Linked DNA regions of Homo sapiens: region 2 is linked to region 1. The links are contacts of gene promoters, found by promoter capture Hi-C in human tissues and cell types (Jung and others, 2019). All regions are on one chromosome and are shown on one strand. Each heading gives the region's core, a stretch centred on a gene start or on the middle of the fragment in contact. The rest is flanking DNA. Distances are from core to core; before and after follow the strand shown. Region 1 holds the start of PITPNC1 (phosphatidylinositol transfer protein cytoplasmic 1). Region 2 holds the start of BPTF (bromodomain PHD finger transcription factor).

The links. The method cuts DNA at HindIII sites, captures the fragments that hold promoters and counts their contacts. A contact is called where the count stands out against the background at its distance.
Region 2: a contact is called between the fragment with the promoter of BPTF here and the fragment with the promoter of PITPNC1 in region 1, in 2 of the 25 tissues and cell types used here (lymphoblastoid cells and spleen).

The regions. Positions count from the first base shown.
Region 1 is chr17:67,375,185-67,381,441 of GRCh38, forward strand. PITPNC1 (phosphatidylinositol transfer protein cytoplasmic 1) reads left to right here and starts at 2,097. Exons shown (of 9, transcript NM_012417.4): 1 at 2,097-3,018. The coding sequence starts at 2,971. RefSeq lists an enhancer at 1,903-2,596 and silencers at 1,982-2,101, 2,152-2,401, 2,752-3,171, 3,182-3,481, 3,592-3,951. The HindIII fragment of the contact is 14,929 bases long and covers 1,329-6,257 here.
Region 2 is chr17:67,820,020-67,826,761 of GRCh38, forward strand. BPTF (bromodomain PHD finger transcription factor) reads left to right here and starts at 5,484. Exons shown (of 28, transcript NM_182641.4): 1 at 5,484-6,318. The coding sequence starts at 5,706. RefSeq lists enhancers at 4,732-5,429, 5,430-6,125, 6,088-6,357 and silencers at 5,338-5,407, 5,608-5,657, 5,838-6,037. The HindIII fragment of the contact is 39,315 bases long and covers 1-6,742 here.

The DNA.
Region 1 (6,257 bases), core at 847-3,346:
GTAGGCCATAGAGAAGCCCTAAAAGGTTTTTATATATTTTTAAATTTTAGAGACAGGGTTTCAGCATGTTTCCCAGGCTGGTCTTGAACTCCTGGGCTCATGCGATCGGCCCACCTCCCCTCCCAAAGTGCTGGGATTACAGGGGTGAGCCACCGAGCCCAGCCAGGAATCACTAAAAGGTTTGAAGGTGGCAGGATGAGAGCTGTACTTGCACAAGATTAATATGACCAGGTTTGCGGATGCAATGAATGAAAAGAAAATGAGAATCCAATGGAGAAGTCACCTTACAACAGGAGGGGTGGGCTGGGCGCGGTGGCTCACACCTGTAATCCCAGCACTTTGGGAGGCCGAGGCCATCACCTGAGCTCAGGAGTTTGAGACCAGCCTGACCAACATGGTGAAACTCCATCTCTACTAAAAATACAAAATTAGCCAGGCGTGGTGGCCGGTGCCTGTAATCCCAGCTACTCCAGAGGCTGAGGCAGAAGACTTGCTTGAACCCGGGAGGTGGAGGTTGCAGTGAGCCGAGATCATGCCATTGCACTCCAGCCTGGGCAACAAGAGCGAAACTCCATCACAAACCAATAACAGCAACAAGACGGATGATGGAGGAAGCATATATGTGACAATTTACAGTTCGGGAAATTCAGAGAAGTAGCTCCTCAACAGTGTCACCCGTCAGTAGAATACTTCCTTCCAGAATCAGTGTCAGGAAATGTCCAGGAAGCCAGGAACTGAGCCTACACATCCCGATGTCCCAAGTGCATGCGCATGTGTGGCTAGCCAATCCCTTGCCTTCCTGCCTCTGGGAAGATTATTAGGTCTTCCATTTGTTTTCAAGTAAGAAGCAAAAAAAAAAAAAAAAAAAGGAAAAACAGCTTGAGTTTCTTTCCATATCACAGCCTTCCAATGTGTTATTATTCAACACTGCAGTGTCAGATTTAGATTTTCCACCTCGAGGAATTTGGTTTAGCTTTAATTAGTTGCTGTGAATATTTCTGAGCCAACTCTGGAAAGCATTTATCTGGAAAATAGTTTCCACTAAAATATAAGCTGGATATAGGGTATCATTTTCCTAGGAGGGTTTGTATCAGTTAACAGTTATAAATTCTCTCCAGCCCTCTGGATGACTTTTGCCACAAGCCCATCATCGTCATATTGGTTAATTACTTATTAATTAAACACAATTCAAAATACTGTATTGAGGCATCTGCATCGCCATCTAAGCTCTAGCTTCAGGACTTCAGAGCGTGAAGATTTTTCGGAGAAAAGATAACGCTTACAGGTTATTCTCATACAGGCAACTGATGCATTTTTCATCCGGCAACTTTTCATAAAAACAAGCTGAAAAATACCAGACAAATGAAAAACAGACTTCAGCAGTTCCATGCTGCTTCCTGAGTAACTGAAGAATGTGCTTCTTGTGGTTAAAATGAGAGATCTGTTTAATATGGATCAAATAGCAACACTCCAGGCATTTTCATTGACATTTCACTGTGACTTTTTGAACTTAGGAGTGCGGATACGAAAACCTACTCTTTCTTTCTGCTGCGCGGAGCCTGCACAATCTGCAGAAAGATTGCAGAGCCGGGCCAGGCGAGGTAACAGGCTACGTGGGGTTCATGTTCTCTCTGGTTGTTCCCTCCCCGTTTGTACTTCATTTCCATTCACACGGCTGCACTTCCCAGTTTTCCAGGATCTCTCCTCTGAAACCAGGCAAGGGTTTGTTCCCAAATCCCACCCATTGCCTCTCCAGCCCCAGACTTGCTTACTGGACCACACATAGGTGGTGGGCATTGGTGACTTGTCCCTAGGGTCAGGGGACCAGAAACTTCCCAGAGGGGCTGGATGGAGCACGGCAGCACTCAGGGCACAATGGAGAGCGGATTCAAAGGGCAAAGGAGCCGAGGAAAGCCCCTCTGCCCGAGCCTCCCCAGCGCCGGCCGGGCTCCGCTCCGGAGCAGCCCCGCCGTCTGGCAGAGACATGCTGTTTTGTTTAAATCCTCCACATTCTTTGCCATTTCCCCATTGGCCGGATGGGGCTACCCTCCCCGCCGCGGCCGCTGCTGATGTCAGCCTCGCTCGCGCTCGCTCCTCCCGCACCCACCTCCCGGCCCCAGGCACACTGCATCGGCGCGGACGCTCCGGCCCCGGCGAGGTGGCTGCAAACTCGCGGGCACGCACGGCGCCCGGGGAGCCGAGGGACTCGGGGGAGGGGACGCGCGCGGAAGGCGCCAGCTTCCTCCCGCCCGCCCCTGGCAGCCGCGAGCCGAGGTTGGAGGCGCCCGGGGCCCCAGCCGGGCAGAGCCGAGCGGCGGCGGCGGCGGCGGCTTCCCTTTTCTCCCCGAGCCGAGCCCCGGAGCGGCGCGGGGACCGGCCCTAAAAAGAGCAGGAAATCTTGTTTACCGCCCGCGGAGAGAAGCCGATCGAGCCTTTGTCTGGAAAGTCAGCATCTCCGGCTCCGGCTGCAATGTGTTCCTGGTGACATTAGCATCGGGCAGACCCGCCGGAGGAGGGGGGTCGCCAGGTTCCCGTCTGCTTTCGGAGGCGGATCGAGCGGGTGACTTTTGTGCATTCGTTTTAATTTTTGGAAATCTCTCTTTTTTCCTCCCTCGCTCGCTGCCGGGCATGTCCTGATCTGGCGGCCGCTCCTACCACCCTGGGCAGCCGAGCAGAGTCGTCCCCAGCGGGTCTCCCTCCCTGCCTCCCTGACTTTGCAACACCGCGTTCCGGGAGGACCGGCCTCGGCGAGGGAGGAGGCGGGGGAGCTGCGAACACCCAGACCCAAACCCTGACATGCTCTGGGGCGGAGAGGAGGAAGCCAGGAGCTGAGCGCGCCGCGGGGGCTGCTTCGCCCTCCGGCTCCGAGCGCCGGGCTCCGGGCGCCCTGCCCTGCGCCTGGGCAGCAGCCTTGCTGGTCTTGGGGGCGCCCCCCGCTTCCCGCCCCGGGGGTCCGCGGCCGGCAGGACCATGCTGCTGAAAGAGTACCGGATCTGCATGCCGCTCACCGTAGACGAGGTAAGCGCCGCGCCCGGCCCGGCCTCGCCCGCTCCGGGACCCCCGCCGCTACCGCCGCCTCCTGGCCGGCGAGCCCCGGGCGAGCGGCAGGAAACCCAGGTGGACGTTACCCCGCAAACCCGAAGCCTGGAGGAGAGGAGGGAGGGGATTTGCGGCTTCCACTTGTCACCCCAGCGGGGGAGGGCGGCGCTGGGTGGGGCGGCGGACTCCGGGTGGGCTTTTCGGGGGCGCCCAGAATCCAGACTGTTGGGGATCACTATGAGCCAAAGGGAGTGGGTGCGCCCCCTCCCTCCAAATAAGAAAATGAATAAACCAAACCCAAGAGCCCCCGGCGCGCGCTGTAGCTGGGGTTTGGGGGGCATCCCGTCCTGGCCGTGGGCCCAGCCTCCCCTCCCCGCCCTCTGCGGTCAGGTAGGGGTGCGAGGAGGAGCCCTGCGCCCTCGGGATCTGCACGCCCCGAGCCCCGCGGGAGGAACCTCTGAGCCCTTAGGGGAGGTCCCTGCGGGGCCCGACTTCTCGCCGTCGCCGCGGGCTTGGGCGCAGCTCCCGGCACGTCCGCCCTTCGAGGCTCGGGACCCGGCTGTGTCCTTTCGCAAACCGCCTGGCTCGGAAACTTTCTGCGTCTCTTGTTTCTTCCGCCGCGGGGAGCGGCGCGCGAGCCGGGAGCGGCGGGGGCTGCGACGCGGCCACAGGAGGGCGCTCCAGCACGTGGTGCCGGGGCCGCGGCTGCCGGCTGGGGGCGCCGGGCGCGGGGCGGGGGCTCGTCCTCCAAGCGCGGCTCTGCTGTCCTTCTCCCGATCCTGCGAAGCCGCGAGCTCCAGTATTCAGGAAGTGGTGACTCAGATAGGATTATTCCGGCCCCGGCTTCCCTTTCTTCCCCTTCTTCCTCCCCACCTTTGTGGTGATTCCACGACTGCTGAGCGTCTCTGTCCAGGGACAGCGAGGGAGCCCAAAGCCAAGCAAGGCAACGTGAAACTCACTAGTGTGGTTTGGTGTGGCAACACACATGAAATCAGCCACCCAGACCGTCTTTATATTTAAATCTGGTGCCTCGAAACTATCAGATATGTTTTTGAGCCACTACTTGGTGAGAGGGGCGATGTGCTTTGGGAGAGAAAAAGATGCATAACTGAGAACATGGCTGAGCTCACAGGGGCTGTCCGTATTTGCCATCTGGACCAAGGGTTAAGGTAAGACCCAAGTACAATCCAAGACAAGATCAAAGTAGCTGCAAGTTTACAAAACGCATCACGGGGACACAGGCTGCCAAGGAGGGAGAGATCAGCTTCCACCAGAATGAACAACCGAGTTTTGGAGTTCGTTGGCATTTGAGGAGGTAGCATTTAAGCAGGGTCTGGAAGGGTGGATGCCAGGTGGGTAGACAGAGATTCGAGTTGCATATGACCTTGTAAGTGGAGAAGCAGGACATAGCTTTGTGGAGAAAGAGAAGGGCAAATGAATGGGACTGGTTAATAGGAGTCTTTCCAGAAAAGGTGGAGATTGTCCCACCTTGTGGGCAGTTGAGCTAGAGTAATTCAGCTGGGAGGCATGGATCCCTCTACTCCATATCCTAATGACCTTGTTTTTTGATATGAGTTTGGATTCTAGGAGCAATGTTGGGACTGCATGAAATACACAGAAAATTGCAGGTGATAATCAAGAAAAGAACCAGTTCTAGAATCTTCTCTACTAACTACAAAATCTCTTTATCCTAGTTGGTTCCCTTTTCAGGCTTTCTGAAACACTCAGGCAGATGCTTTTCCCACTTTTGTTTTTGTACCGAAATACCCACAGGTATACCGTGGGGTAATTACATTTGAATGATATAGGTGGAGGCCCTTCCTTCCTTCCTTCCTTTTTTTTGTCTTTTCTTTTCTTTTTTTTTTTTTTGAGATGGAGCCTTGTTATGTTGCCCAGGGTGGGGCGCAATGGCGAGATCTCGGCTCACTGCAACCTCCGCCACCTGGATTCAAGCAATTCTCCTGCCTCAGCCTCCTGAGTAGCTGAGATTACAGGTGCCTGCCACCACGTCTGGCTAATTTTTGTATTTTTAGTAGAGACGGGGTTTCACCATGTTGGCCAGGCTGGTCTTGAATGCCTGACCTCAGGCAATCCGCCTGCCTCAGCCTCCCAAAGTGCTGGGATTACAGGCATGAGCCACTGCGCCCAGCCAGCCCTTCCTTTCTTAATTGGCCAACAAAATCAGACTCATCAGACTCCACCTGTAATATAATTATAAATTCTTTAATGTATAATTCATTTTGGCCAAAGTATGATTCAGTTTCTGTAAGGTTCATATTCTGAAGTCATTTTCGGCTTTGTCAGAGAAGCAGGAGGGCAATTTAGATTAATAGATGTTTCCAATTAGTAGGATTCAGATTAGCTAAATCTGATGATGGATGAAGAAATGAGGCCTAGTTTGCCAGATGTTAAACCCCTAGAGTCAGAACTGATAGTAAATTCCACAGTCTCCACCATCCCCTTTTCCACTGACCCTTTTTCCACATTGAAAATGAGGAAGCAACTTGAGTTTCTTTAAATAAGATGTTTAGGTAAACTTTGGAAGCCTAACTTTTTTTTTTTCTTTTTGAGACACGGTCTCGCTCTGTCATCCAGGCTGGAGTGCAGTGGCGTGATCCTAGTTCACTGCAGCCTCCATCTCCTGGGCTCAAGTGATCCTCCCATCTCAGCCTCCTGAGTAGCTGGGACAATAGGTGTGTGCTGCCAACCCGGCTAATTTTTTTACTTTTTGTAGAGACAGGGACTCGCTGTGTTGCCCAGGCTGGTCTTGAACTCCTGAGCTTGAGTGATCCTCCTGCCTCAGCCTTTTAAAGTGCTGGGATTGCCGGGTGCGGTGGCTCACGCCTGTAATCCCAGCACTTGGGGAGGCTGAGGTGGGCAGATCACGAGGTCAGGAGATCGAGACCATCCTGGCTAACACAGTGAAACCCCGTCTCTACTAAAAATACAAAAAAATTAAGCAGGCCTGGTGGCGGGCGCCTGTAGTCCTAGCTACTTGGGACGCTGAGGCAGTAGAATGGCGTGAACCTGGGAGGCGGAGCTTGCAGTGAGCTGAGATCACGCCACTGCACTCCAGCCTGGGCGACAGAACAAGACTCCACTCAAAAAAAAAAAAAAAAAAAAGGGCTGGGATTACAGGCATGAGCCACTGCGCCCGGCCTGGGAGCCTAACTTTTGCTTCCACTCTTGGTTGGCTCTGGGCCTGATTCAACCTACAT
Region 2 (6,742 bases), core at 4,234-6,733, 450 kb after region 1:
AAAAAAAAGAAGTCAAGGACTATGGATGGGGTGATTTCATTTGACAGTACTGGATGCTTGGTGGCTCTCTTTGGATTTAGAAGACTAGATATACAAGGCTGGGCATGGTGGCTCATGCCTGTAATCCCAGCTCTTTGGGAGGCTGAGGCAGGTGGATCACCTGAGGTCAGGAGTTTGAGACCAGCCTGGCCAACATGGTAAAACCCCGTCTCTACTAAAAATACAAAAATTAGCTGTGTGCCTCGAATCCCAGTTACTTAGGAGGCTGAGGCAGGAGAATCACTTGAACCCAGAAGGCAGAGGTTGCAGTGAGCCAAGGTTACGCCACTGCACTCTAGCCTACGTGACAGAGTGAGACTCCGTCTCAAAAAAAAAAAAAAAAAGAAGAAGAAGAAGACTATATATACCACGTTTGTTTGTGCTGCCTTAACCCATTTTCAGAGTGACCTGAGGCCTTGCTAACATTGAGCCACAAGGCAGAGCAAGAGAAGATTCTTCAGCAGGTCCAGGCTGTGGTGCAAGGACTTCTGCTAATTGGTCCTCATGACCCAATGTACCCAACAGCACTCTCTGGACAACCACATACTGGGGTGCTGTATGAAGGGCGCATGAAAACCCTGCAAAGGAGCATCCTATGGTTGTGCTTAGGGTTTTGGATCAAAGCCTTGCTCTCTTTGGCTAATAAATATTCTTTCTGGAAACTGGTCTTACTTTGCTCCTGGGCCCCAGCAAAGATTGAAAGCCAGGTGACCACATACCTGTGCAGCTTGTCAGGAACTGAGTATTTGTTCCACTTAGCCAAAAAATGTCCAGTAGCGCTCCCTTCCCCAAGAAGACATGTCGTAGGCTGGGCGCAGTGGCTCGTGCCTATAATCCTAGCACTTTGGGAGGCTGAGGCGGGCAGATCACTTGTGGTCAGGAGTTGAAGACCAGCCTGGCCAACATGGCGAAACCCTGTCTCTACTAAAAAAAAATACAAAATTAGCTGGGCAAGGTGGCAGCCACCTGCAGTCCCAGTTACTCAGGAGGCTGAGGTGGGTGGATGGCTTGAGCCCGGCAGGTGGAGGTTGCAGTGAGCCAAGATCGCGCCACTGCACTCCAGCCTGGGTGACAGAGCGAGACCATTTCTTGAAAAAAAAAAAAAAAAGTTATGCAAAACACCTCTCATTCCATCTATTGTACACTTTTTGTAAATAATTTTGCTTTACTATTCAATTATAAATTTTGAAGGGTATTCCCACTTCTAATATCTTTGTATTCCCTATAATACATAGCATACTTATTTAATTTTAGAGCTGGGGATCTCACTATGTTGCCTCAAACTACTGGGCTCAAGTGATCCTCTCACCTCAGCCTTCCAAAGTGCTGGGATTACAGGTATGAGCCACCGCACCTGGCAGTACATAGCATTTTACACACTATGTAGGATATACATTGCAAACTAGTAGACTCTGGGCTATATCCAAACTGCCTATTTTTTATTTATTTTTTCTTTTTTGAGATGGAGTCTTGCTGTGTCGTCCAGGCTAGAGTGCAGTGGCACGATCTCGGCTGACTGCAACCTCCACCTCCTGGGTTCAAGCAATTCTCCTGCCTCCCTAGTAGCTGGGATTGCAGGTGCACAGCGCCACGCCCAGCTAATTTTTGTACTTTTAGTGGAGACGGGGTTTCACCATGTTGGCCAGAATGGTCTCAAACTCCTGACCTCAGGTGATCAACCCACCCTAGACTCCCATAGTGTTGGGATTACAGGTGTGAGCCACCACACCGGGCCAAGACTGCTTATATTTTTATCAATCTGTAGTGTTTTGTTCTGAGACAGGGTCCTGCTCTGTCACACATGCTGGAGTGCAATATAAACATATATTAATATTTATTGAAATAAATGACTACCAAAAAGTAATTTAAAGAAAAATAGTTGTCTGGGCATGGTGGCTCACACCTTCAATCCCAGCCCTTTGAGAGACCGAGGCCAGAGAATAGCTTGAGGCCAGGAGTTCGAGACCAGCCCGCGCAACATAGTGGGACCTTGTCTCTAGAAAAAATTTGAAAATTAGCTGGGCATGGTGGTGCGCGCCTGTGGTCCCAGCTGCCCGGGAGGCTGAGGTGAGAGGATTGCTTGAGCCTGGGAGGTGGACGTTGCAGTGAGCTGCGATTGCATCACTTCACTCTAGCCTGGGTGACAGAGCAAAACCCCGTCTCAAAATTTAAAAAGAAAGAAAGAAAAGAAAGGAAACCTAACAGGATTCTGATTCTGTCCACCAAATGGCTTATTTCTTTTTTCTTTTTTTGAGACAGAGTCTCACTTTGTCGCCCAGGCTGGAGTACAGTGGTGCGATCTTGGCTCACTGCAACCTCCGTCTCCTGGGTTCAAGCGATTCTCCTGTCTCAGCCTCCAGAGTAGCTGGGATTACAGGCAAGTGCCACCACGTCCAGCTAATTTTTGTATTTTTAGTAGAGATGGGGTTGTACCATGTTGGTCAGGCTGATCTCGAACCCCTGACCTCAGGTGATCCGCCCGCCTCATCCTTCCAAAGTGCTGGGATTACAGGCATGAGCCACTGCGCCTGGTGGCTTATTTCAATCTAGATAGGAAAATATAACACATATGTGAAATGAAAAAATACAAGCACTAATTGCCAAATAAATGTATTCAATATAATTTGGTTGAGCACTATGGGTGACAAATCTGTATATGCCTCCAGGAACCAGGTAAGTAATGAAAGTCAACAAAGTAGGGGAAGATGAGGACTTGGCCAATGGAAGTGCCCCCCGCTTTTTTTTTTTTAGACAGACTTTCGCTCTGTTGCCCAGGCTGGAGTGCAGTGGTGTGATCTGCACTCACTACAACCTCCACCTCCCAGGTTAAGCGATTCTCCTGCCTCAGTCTTACAAATAGCTGGGACTACCGGTGCTCCATCACACCTGGCTAGTTTTTAGTAGAGACAGGGTTTCACCATGTTGACCAGGCTGGTCTCGAACTTCCGCCCTCAAGTGATCTGCCTGCCTTTGCCTCCCAAAGTGCTGGGATTACAGGCATGAGCCACCACGCCCGGCCCTGGCCCCGTATTTTGTTTAAAGAGGGTGGCTGGGCACAGTGGCTGTAGCTTGTAATCCCAGCACTTTGGGAGGGAGGCGGGTGGATTGCTTGAGCTTAGGAGTTTGCAGTGAACCAAGATCGCTGGGATATGCATATTTAAGGTTTCAATTTTTGTGTCTCCAAATAAAATTCTCAGTTCCTCACTACCTTTTTTTTTTTTTTGAGATAGAGTCTTGCTGTGTCACCCAGACTGGAGTCCAGTGGCACGATCTTGGCTCACTGCAGCCTCTGCCTCCTGGGTTTAAGCGATTCTCCTGTCCGCTTCCCAAGTAGTTGGGATTACACGCATGAGCCACCATGCCCAGCTAATTTTTGTATTTTTAGTAGACAGGATTTCACCATGTTGCCCAGGATAATCTCGAACTCCTGGGCTCAAGTGATCCGCCCACCTGGCCTCCTCAAGTGCTGGGATTACAGGCCTGAGCCACCGTGCCTGACCACCCTCTTCAAACAAAATATGGGCACCTCCATTGGCCTAGGTCTTCATCTTGCCTACTTTATTGACTTACATTACTTACCTGGTCCCTGGAGACATATACACATTTGTCACCCTTAGAGCTCGACCAAATTGTATTGAATGCATTTCTCTGGCAATTAGTGCTTGTATTTTAATTTTCATTTCACATATGTGTTCCATTTTCCTAACAAGACTGAAATAAGCCATTTGGTATGCAGAATTCTGTTAGATATTTTTATTTTTATTTTTTTGAGACGGAGTCTTGCTTTGTTGCCAGGCTGGAGTGCAGTGGTGCGATCTCGGCTCACTGCAACCTCCACCTCCCAGGCTCAAGCGATTCTTCTGCCTCAGCCTCTGGAGTAGCTGGGACTACAGGCACGCACCACCACGCCTGGCTAACTTTTGTATTTTTAGTACAGAACTTTTGCATTTTTAGTAGAGATGGGGTTTCACCATATTGGCCAGGCTGGTCTCAAACTCCTGCCCTGGTGATCCGCCCTCCTCAGCCTCCCAAAGTGCTGGGATTACAGGCGTGAGCCACCGCGCCCAGCATCTTTTTTAAAAAAAATTGAGACAGGGTCTTGCTCTGTCACCCAAGCTGGAGTGCAGTGGTGCAATCACGGCTCACTGCAACATCCACCTCCCAGGCTCAAGCAATCCTCCCACCTCAGCCTCTCGCTAGCTGGGACCACAGGTGCACACCACCATGCCCGGCTAATTTTTCAAATTTTTTCTAAAGACGAGGTCCTGCTATGTTGCCCAGGCTGGTCTTGAACTCTTGACCTCAAGCTATCATCCGGCCTTGGCCTCTCAAAGGACTGGGATTGCAGGTGTGAGCTACCACGCCCGGCCAACTATTTTTCTTTAAATTACTTTTCGGTTGTCACTTCTCTCAATAAATATTCATATGTTTATAACACCTTTCTCTTATCTAAAGAGCTGACCTCAACCACTCAGGGTTGAGTCGCTGTGATAAGGTTTGAGGGTGCCTGAAATGTCATCATGATTCGTCCTTTGGGCTAAGCTGAAACCTAGTGACTTGTCAGGTCAATAAATTAAGGTTATTTCCCGATAATACAAACATTTAACACCGTGAAGTAGGTTTTAGGCAGGATTCCCTCTTTTCCACTGCAAAGGAGAGGTAAGTTCTTGCTGAGGTGATCGAAGTCCTAGCTGGGGCACTGGGAAGGTGGCGGGACATTGGAACGTGCAGTAGTTGCGTTCTGGAGTTTACTGAGGCTTTCCCAGTGCGGATTCCACGCTACAGGTCTTAGGGCGCCCCTCCCTCCGGGCGTGGCAGCCCGGGGCGTGGCTCCTGGCACAGATCCGGAGCAGTTGTCATTGGAGTCATTTTCTGGACTCCAGCTCCATGCTTCAGAGTTTCCTAAGTTCAGGGGGCTTGTCTCTCTGTCCCCTCGACTAATTTCCCTCTGTCGCTGGCGCTGCCCGGTGCCCTCGGTCGCTTGGGCCGCCCCTCTCCGCGACTTTTTTTTTTCTTTCTCTCGCTGGCTCTTTCAGCATCAGTTTCCATAGGGGGAGGGAAGGGAATGATATTTGGGGGCTCCCTTGCCTTCCTCTCCGAGCCGCGAAAGGGGAGACGCGGGGAGGAGGTCCGGCCGGCTTTGGGCTCCAGCCAGCGGTCCGCGGAGACTTTGGTCTCCGAAGGCCTTTGACGCCGGGCATTTCGCGAGCTGCGCGCCCCTCTCAGCCGCGCCACCTGCGCCCGGAGTTTTGCCGCGCCACCCGCGCCCGGAGTCCAGCCGCACCGCGCTGTGCCGAGCCCAGGCGCCCAGGGCTCCCCGCCCCCGACTCGACGCTCCCGCGCTCCCCCTAGCGGCCGCCGCGCCGCTTCGCTCCGTCCCAGGCTCGTCGGCGGCGCAGCTCACGTGACCGCGCTCTGGGCCTGCGGCCGCTGTCGGTTCCCCCAGTCACCGAGCGAGAGGGAAGAAACAAGATGGCGGCTGAAGGCGATCCGGAGTGGGGCCCCAGCAATTCGGATTGAGCCTTCTCCCTCCACCCGCTTCCGTCGGCCGGGCCCCTCCCGCCCGGCCCCGCGGGCCTCCCCACCCGGCCCCGGCGCTCCCCACCGCCCCCCCTGCGCCCGCCCCTCCCCCTTCGCTTTCCTTCTCCCCCCGCCTCGGCTCCGACATGAGGGGCCGGCGGGGCAGGCCGCCCAAGCAGCCCGCGGCTCCCGCTGCGGAGCGCTGCGCCCCGGCCCCGCCGCCACCGCCGCCGCCGCCCACGTCCGGACCCATCGGGGGGCTCCGCTCGCGGCACCGCGGCAGCAGCCGGGGCAGGTGGGCCGCCGCCCAGGCTGAGGTGGCGCCCAAGACGCGGCTGAGCTCGCCCAGGGGGGGCAGCAGTAGCCGGAGGAAGCCGCCGCCGCCGCCGCCGGCCCCCCCCAGCACCAGCGCCCCGGGCCGGGGGGGGCGAGGAGGCGGGGGCGGCAGGACGGGGGGCGGGGGCGGCGGCGGCCACCTGGCCCGGACCACCGCGGCCCGGAGGGCCGTCAACAAAGTGGTGTACGATGACCACGAGAGCGAGGAGGAGGAGGAAGAGGAGGACATGGTCTCCGAGGAGGAGGAGGAGGAGGACGGCGACGCCGAGGAGACCCAGGATTCTGAGGACGACGAGGAGGATGAGATGGAAGAGGACGACGATGACTCCGATTATCCGGAGGAGATGGAAGACGACGACGACGACGCCAGTTACTGCACGGAAAGCAGCTTCAGGAGCCATAGTACCTACAGCAGCACTCCAGGTACCCACCCAGCCCAGTTGCTGCAGACTCCTTCCCCACCTCCTCTGCCCTCCCCCCTTGCTCACTCGTGTGCTGTGCATCCTGCTCCGATCTCCCCCCAACCCCGCCTCCCCCCCAAACAGAGGGGAAATGCGACGGCACATCAAGTGGCAAAAAACTAGATTTACAAGAGGAAAGAGGCGCATTGTTCAAAATGGAGATTGCATTGTTGCAGTTTGCAGGCCACACTCGCTCGCTCTCTCTCCCCCCCCCAACCCCCTTTTTTTCCTCTTCAAAATTTGTGCCAGTGCAGTGTCTCCACCGGGCAGGATTGAAACTTTGGCAAACACATATCCATTGCATTCATTTTTCTCCCCTTGTTTTGGTGTGGTTTTCTGGAATGAAAGAAGCCTCTTGTTTTGCAAACCTCTTTGCATTTCTAATG